Linked DNA regions of Homo sapiens: region 2 is linked to region 1. Evidence: promoter capture Hi-C in human tissues and cell types (Jung and others, 2019). All regions are on one chromosome and are shown on one strand. The core of a region is centred on a gene start or on the middle of the fragment in contact, and the rest is flanking DNA. Distances in the headings are between cores, read along the strand shown.

What was found. The method cuts DNA at HindIII sites, captures the fragments that hold promoters and counts their contacts. A contact is called where the count stands out against the background at its distance.
Region 2: a contact is called between a fragment that was not itself captured here and the fragment with the promoter of FAM162B in region 1, in 1 of the 25 tissues and cell types used here (lymphoblastoid cells).

What each region holds. Positions count from the first base shown.
Region 1 is chr6:116,764,462-116,767,161 of GRCh38, reverse strand. FAM162B (family with sequence similarity 162 member B) reads left to right here and starts at 1,443. Exons shown (of 4, transcript NM_001085480.3): 1 at 1,443-1,757; 2 at 1,907-2,015. The coding sequence starts at 1,586. It overlaps LOC105377963 (a long non-coding RNA gene), which reads right to left and starts at 794. Exons shown (of 3, transcript XR_942910.3): 1 at 623-794; 2 at 441-519; 3 at 1-96. RefSeq lists an enhancer at 1,908-2,422. The HindIII fragment of the contact is 7,101 bases long and covers 1-2,700 here.
Region 2 is chr6:117,321,522-117,324,221 of GRCh38, reverse strand. All of the region lies in intron 35 of ROS1 (ROS proto-oncogene 1, receptor tyrosine kinase), which reads left to right. Among named protein-coding and RNA genes, the nearest start is that of VGLL2, 57 kb to the right of the region's middle. The HindIII fragment of the contact is 3,366 bases long and covers 1-2,700 here.

The DNA of each region.
Region 1 (2,700 bases), core at 194-2,693:
TTCTTCATCTTCACCTGATGTCATCACTGCTCCATCCCCAGCTCTGAGAGGTAGCTGGCACGTAGCTGGTTACTGGTAGTCATTGCATGAATAAACCTAAAAGATAGGAATTCTGGTTTTACAAAAGAGACCAAGACTTATAACTTAAATGATTTACTGCTCATGATTGTGCAACTTTTAAGTCACAAATCCGGGATTTAAACCTAGGTGTGAAGGCAAAGCCCATGTTCCTTCTGCAAGCGCTCCTCTAAATGTATGTCTTCACAGAGCTATTAACCCCTCTTTTTTTGTTTAACACGGTTATGTAAAAAGAAAAAAAAACTGAGCTGGCAGTTACAGAAAAGTTATAGCTTTCAAGAGCCTGACAGTCTAGTTAGGAAGCAAAATATCTAGAAATCCAACAAGTGCAAAGCAGTGTCTAGATAAGGAGGGAAACTCACAGGCAGTAATAGCAGAGGAGGGTGAGCTCGGCCTGGTGCTGGGCTGATGAGCACTTTGACTTGGCAGGAGGTCTGTTGTCTGTGGAACAAGATAAGTAAATTGCTTGTACAACCCTTCTCTCCAATCATTGAATCTGAATCCCTGTTACCATTTAATGCCTGAAAATAGTAGATTCTTTTACCTTTTAGCATAGAGGAGATGGTGGAAGGTGACAGAAGAAAGGCACATTTTGAAGGGAGTGTGGAGAGTTTGTGGGCTAAGAGATGAAGAGGTAGGAAGCTGGCATGGCGGCTCATACGTGTAATCCCAGTGCTTTGGGAGGCAGAGCCCAGCTGATAGCTTGAGGCCAGGAGTTGGAGACCAGTCTGGACAACATAGTGAGATCCCATCTCTTAAAAAAAAAAAAAATAGCGGAGCGTGCTGGCGCACGACCAAAGCCCTAGCTACTCTGGAGGCTAAGGTGGGAGGACTACTTGAGTCCAGGAGTTCGACGTTACAATGAGCTATCAGCATGCCACTGCACTTTAGCCTGAGTGACAGAGCCAGAGACTGTCTCTGAAAAGAAGAAGAAAAGATAGAGAAAGGCACTTGGAGGAATTGAGATTGTTTTCCGTAGGAAAGAGAAAAGGTATGGGGGTGGGAGACGATGAGGTGAGGAGCTAACTTCAAGAAATCTCATCCAGAAGTTAGTGGAGTGCCCTTAACACTTAATTGGGAAATGTCTTCAGTTTCCTGCACTTGAAGGATTGTTGTCTCTTCCTGGAAGAGAGGATTTAGATTTATTCTCCTGGGGAACAAACGATGGAATCAAAGGCTAAAAGCCTGGCGGGAATACATTTCTACTCAATACAAAGAATTTAAAAGGAGCTACACGCACTGCCTCAGGCGGTGGTGAGCCTGTTTCAAACAGAGGCAGGCTGCTTCCTGAGGAACCAGCCCCTCGGGGCTTGACGCCCTGATCCCGGGTCGCTGGCCGGGGGCGGAGACGGGGATAGCGAGCTGAGTGTGCGAGCGCCAGGGGTTCCAGCTGCACGTCCCAGGCTCTCCAGCGCGCGGCAGGCCGGGGCGGGACGAGGAGAGCTGCGGGGACAACGCCTGTGGCTGGGTCCGGAGGTGCGGGTGCGGCGCGGGACAAGCGGGCAGCATGCTCAGGGCGGTCGGGAGCCTACTGCGCCTTGGCCGCGGGCTAACAGTCCGCTGCGGCCCCGGGGCGCCTCTCGAGGCCACGCGACGGCCCGCACCGGCTCTTCCGCCCCGGGGTCTCCCCTGCTACTCCAGCGGCGGGGCCCCCAGCAATTCTGGGCCCCAAGGTCACGGTGAGCCAGGGCTCCGACGGGGAGGTCCTGGGAGGGAGGAGGTTGCGGGAGGGCAGCGAGGGGCCGGCCCGGGAGTCGGCTTGAGGGCGCGCTGATCCTCTGTGCCGGTGCGTCAGTTCCCGCGTCCATCTGGGTTGCTTTCGCTGCAGGGGAGATTCACCGAGTCCCCACGCAGCGCAGGCCTTCGCAGTTCGACAAGAAAATCCTGCTGTGGACAGGGCGTTTCAAATCGATGGAGGAGATCCCGCCTCGGATCCCGTAAGTGTGGCGACCGCCGCGCGAAGGAGAGTCGGTCCCCGGCCGCAAGGGTGCGGGGTGACCCACCTTCCGACCGCGGCCACCTAGGAGCGAAAGCGGCCGCAGTGCCAACACTTCGCAATATCACCCACCACACACGGAGTTTACCCACACACACACCCCGCCTCCAGTGCGGTGTGTCAAGAGTCAATTAAGCTTACAGGGAGATTGCAGAAGGTGGGTGAAAACTGAGAGGTTCAGGGGACACTTCCAGCACCGCCCAGATTGCCGGTCCCCAGCAAGCTCCGAACTGGGAGGCAGTGGGGCTCTTGTGCCAAACAGGCCACGGTCCTCGCGAGCATCCGGATGGCTGCCGGGACGCCAGACCGCAATCCAGGCTTTGGCCGGGGGCGTCCCCCTACCCCACCCAAGGAAGGGGTTCTCTGATCTTGGCTTGCGGGGCGGCTGTGGCGGGGGGGTCTCTGGAAAAAAGACGCATCCATGCGGCCTCCTCTTCTGGGGCAGGAGACGCCTGGCGGACGTGTTTCTGCAGCCCTCTAGGCTCCGGGTTTACTCAGGGTGGGACGCGCGGGAGTGTCAGCACTGTGGGCCTCTTCAGCATGCTAAACCCACCAAGACAGATGATAAAACTCAAACTAATAACTCCCCCTCTAAGGTAATGTAACCTGTAAAATAAATGCTAATA
Region 2 (2,700 bases), core at 121-2,620, 560 kb before region 1:
GTTAATAAAATTTACATTGTTACCTTTGGCTATACATTTATAACCACTAACTTCTGTGAATTGTTTTCTGATCTAGGCATAACTATTTTATGGAAAATATACATGTACATTTCATGTTATACTTTAGATAAAACTACTTGCAAGGGCACCAACTTTTAGGTTTCTTTAAAACAGTATTTATTTCTGATTGGCTGCATACAAATGTTTTGTGGCTTATGGTTTAAAATAAATAAAAGAAAAATAACCCTGGGTACAGAAAAAAGTATAGAATTAATGGGAGGCCAGTGACAATCTTTGATTGGGATAGTTTTGGTTTCTAAGCAGACAGGCTGGTTTGGAATGAGTAGGGCCTCTTTTGCAGAAGATCCATTTCTGGCTTGTGGGATCGACTCTTGCTTTCAGACATCTGATCTGCTTATTTCAAATCCCTGCTCATTTATAAATGACCAGGAAGGCAGAAAAATTAGGTTAGGTAGATAGAAAGCTATTTTTTTTCTAAGAAGATTTACTTTAATGATAATAAAATGCAGTAAAAACCTCAAAGGGAATGGTCAAGTACTGATTGGACTTTTAGAGTTATCACAGTGATCATACATTCTTGTTTATTTCTGTTTCAGCACAAATAATAATAGCACTTTCTTTCATTCCCCAAACTGTCCGAGTTTGCTTATAAGATATATGGACCCCTATCTATTGCTAATATTGAGAGTCCCCAACACACTGAATCATTAAAAGAAGGGCATGATTCTTACCAGAAAAGAACACTCAAACACATATTAAGAAAGTTGTGGCTTGTTTTGTTCACAAGTAGGGGTAAGTTACAAGGGAAAGTTGATGGAAAAGTCACAAACATAAAGTTGAACTCTCAGGATAAAGACAGCCAACACTTTACTGTGTTCTAAGTCTTTATTCTTTCTGCAAAGTGATTGGAGTCACAATCTTTATGAGAGCACTTTGAAGCTCGATTTGAGATTTTTTTCAAAGATTCCACCCAGACAATATGTGAAACTCCTTCAGCAAACTTGGAAAGCTAAAAATTTCAGCTGACCCTGCCAGGATTTTAACCTGTGGTTCCAGAGAGTCTAAGTATTGCACAGCTGATGTTTGTGCCACTAAGCCAGCCCCTCCAGACTTACGCATATGACTGCAGTATATTTGGCAGTTGGCATATAGGCTTGACTGCTTGTCTGCTTTCCTACTGGGAAGGAGAATTACATGAAGAATCCTTCAGCTGACCTTTGCTTGCTTTCTTGTACATCACCATTGTTTAAACCCATAACTCTAGTGGATGAACATGAGATAATTTCAGACAACCTATTGTGCTTCCAAGACATCCTATGGATATCTGACTTTCTCAGGACTTAAAGGTCTTTATTCTGTTTGAAATTCACGAATTTTTGAGTCTAGCTAAGCTAATTCGGTTCTTTGCTTTTAGCAGCAGTGCATGTGGTTTTACTAGTAAGAGCGTGTGTGTGCATGAGAAAAGATTGAGTAATTAAAATAACAAAACAGTCACAATTATTTTAAAATTTGTATTGTGCTGAGGGCACTCATCAGTTATAAACATAAAATTAGACAATTTTTAAAATGAGTGTTGACAGCCTTTGCTTCTGAGCAGTCATATCTAATGCATAACATTAGCCTTCTGCTGGGAGTAGGGGAAAATGTAAACCTGTAAAATACAACTGCTGACCTCAGGAGCTTGCCATTTAATGAGGGAGTTAAGACATGCCTGTGTGGGAAGACAAATAGCAAGATATGTGTTAAATAATAACAAAAGACAAAAATAGATGAAATAAGTAAGACAGTGCATAGGATAAGCACTCACAGAGAGGCGCAATTAGTCTTTCAAGTTCAGATATGAAAGATTAGTAGAGGTTGCTGAGGTTTCAGAAGGCATCATTGAGGATGTGGGCTTACATTGGGCCTTTAAAAGTGAAGCGAGGTGGTGAGAACATTTCAAGTTGGAAAAATTAATTTAGCAAAAGGTACTTGTGATCTTTCACTGTGTAGCCCTTCAAATTGAATTTCATGTGAATAAAACTCTAACTTCTTGAACATAGAAGCTACTGTGAAATTAAGTTCAAATTTTAATGATCATCTCTCAAAGCATGCTTGCTGCTTTCAACTTCTGAGCCAATAGTCCAGTACAGATGACAATCCTATTGACATAATTGTATTTTAATATTAAAAAAATTTTATTATTATAAAACTAATACTGCTTATTATATAAGGAAGACAGTACAAATTACTCATGATTCTACAACTAGGGCAGACCACTGCTAACATTTGGTAAGCTTCGTTCCAATACTTTTTCTACATATTCGAGTATGTGTATATGAACAACAATGATAAACACTCTTGTACTCTGCAAAAAAAAAAAAAAAAAAAATTGCCATTATACTGAAAGCATTTTCTTTTCTACTGAGGAATATAACCTGGATGTGACTGAACTCAAAAATGAATTTGTTTCACTAATAATTATGTTTGTTTTGGTTTATTTTGACTCGTTTATGGGTGATTTTGACAAATAAGTTTTAATATTAAGATACTTTAATTTGTTTATAACAACAGTAAGAAATACATTAAATTTTAAGAAGTGAGATTAAAAATGGTGTAGTATGATTTGTGTACTTATATATGGCTTTTTACCTGGATTTAATTAGTTTTTTATAAGATATTTTAAAATCAAATTATGAA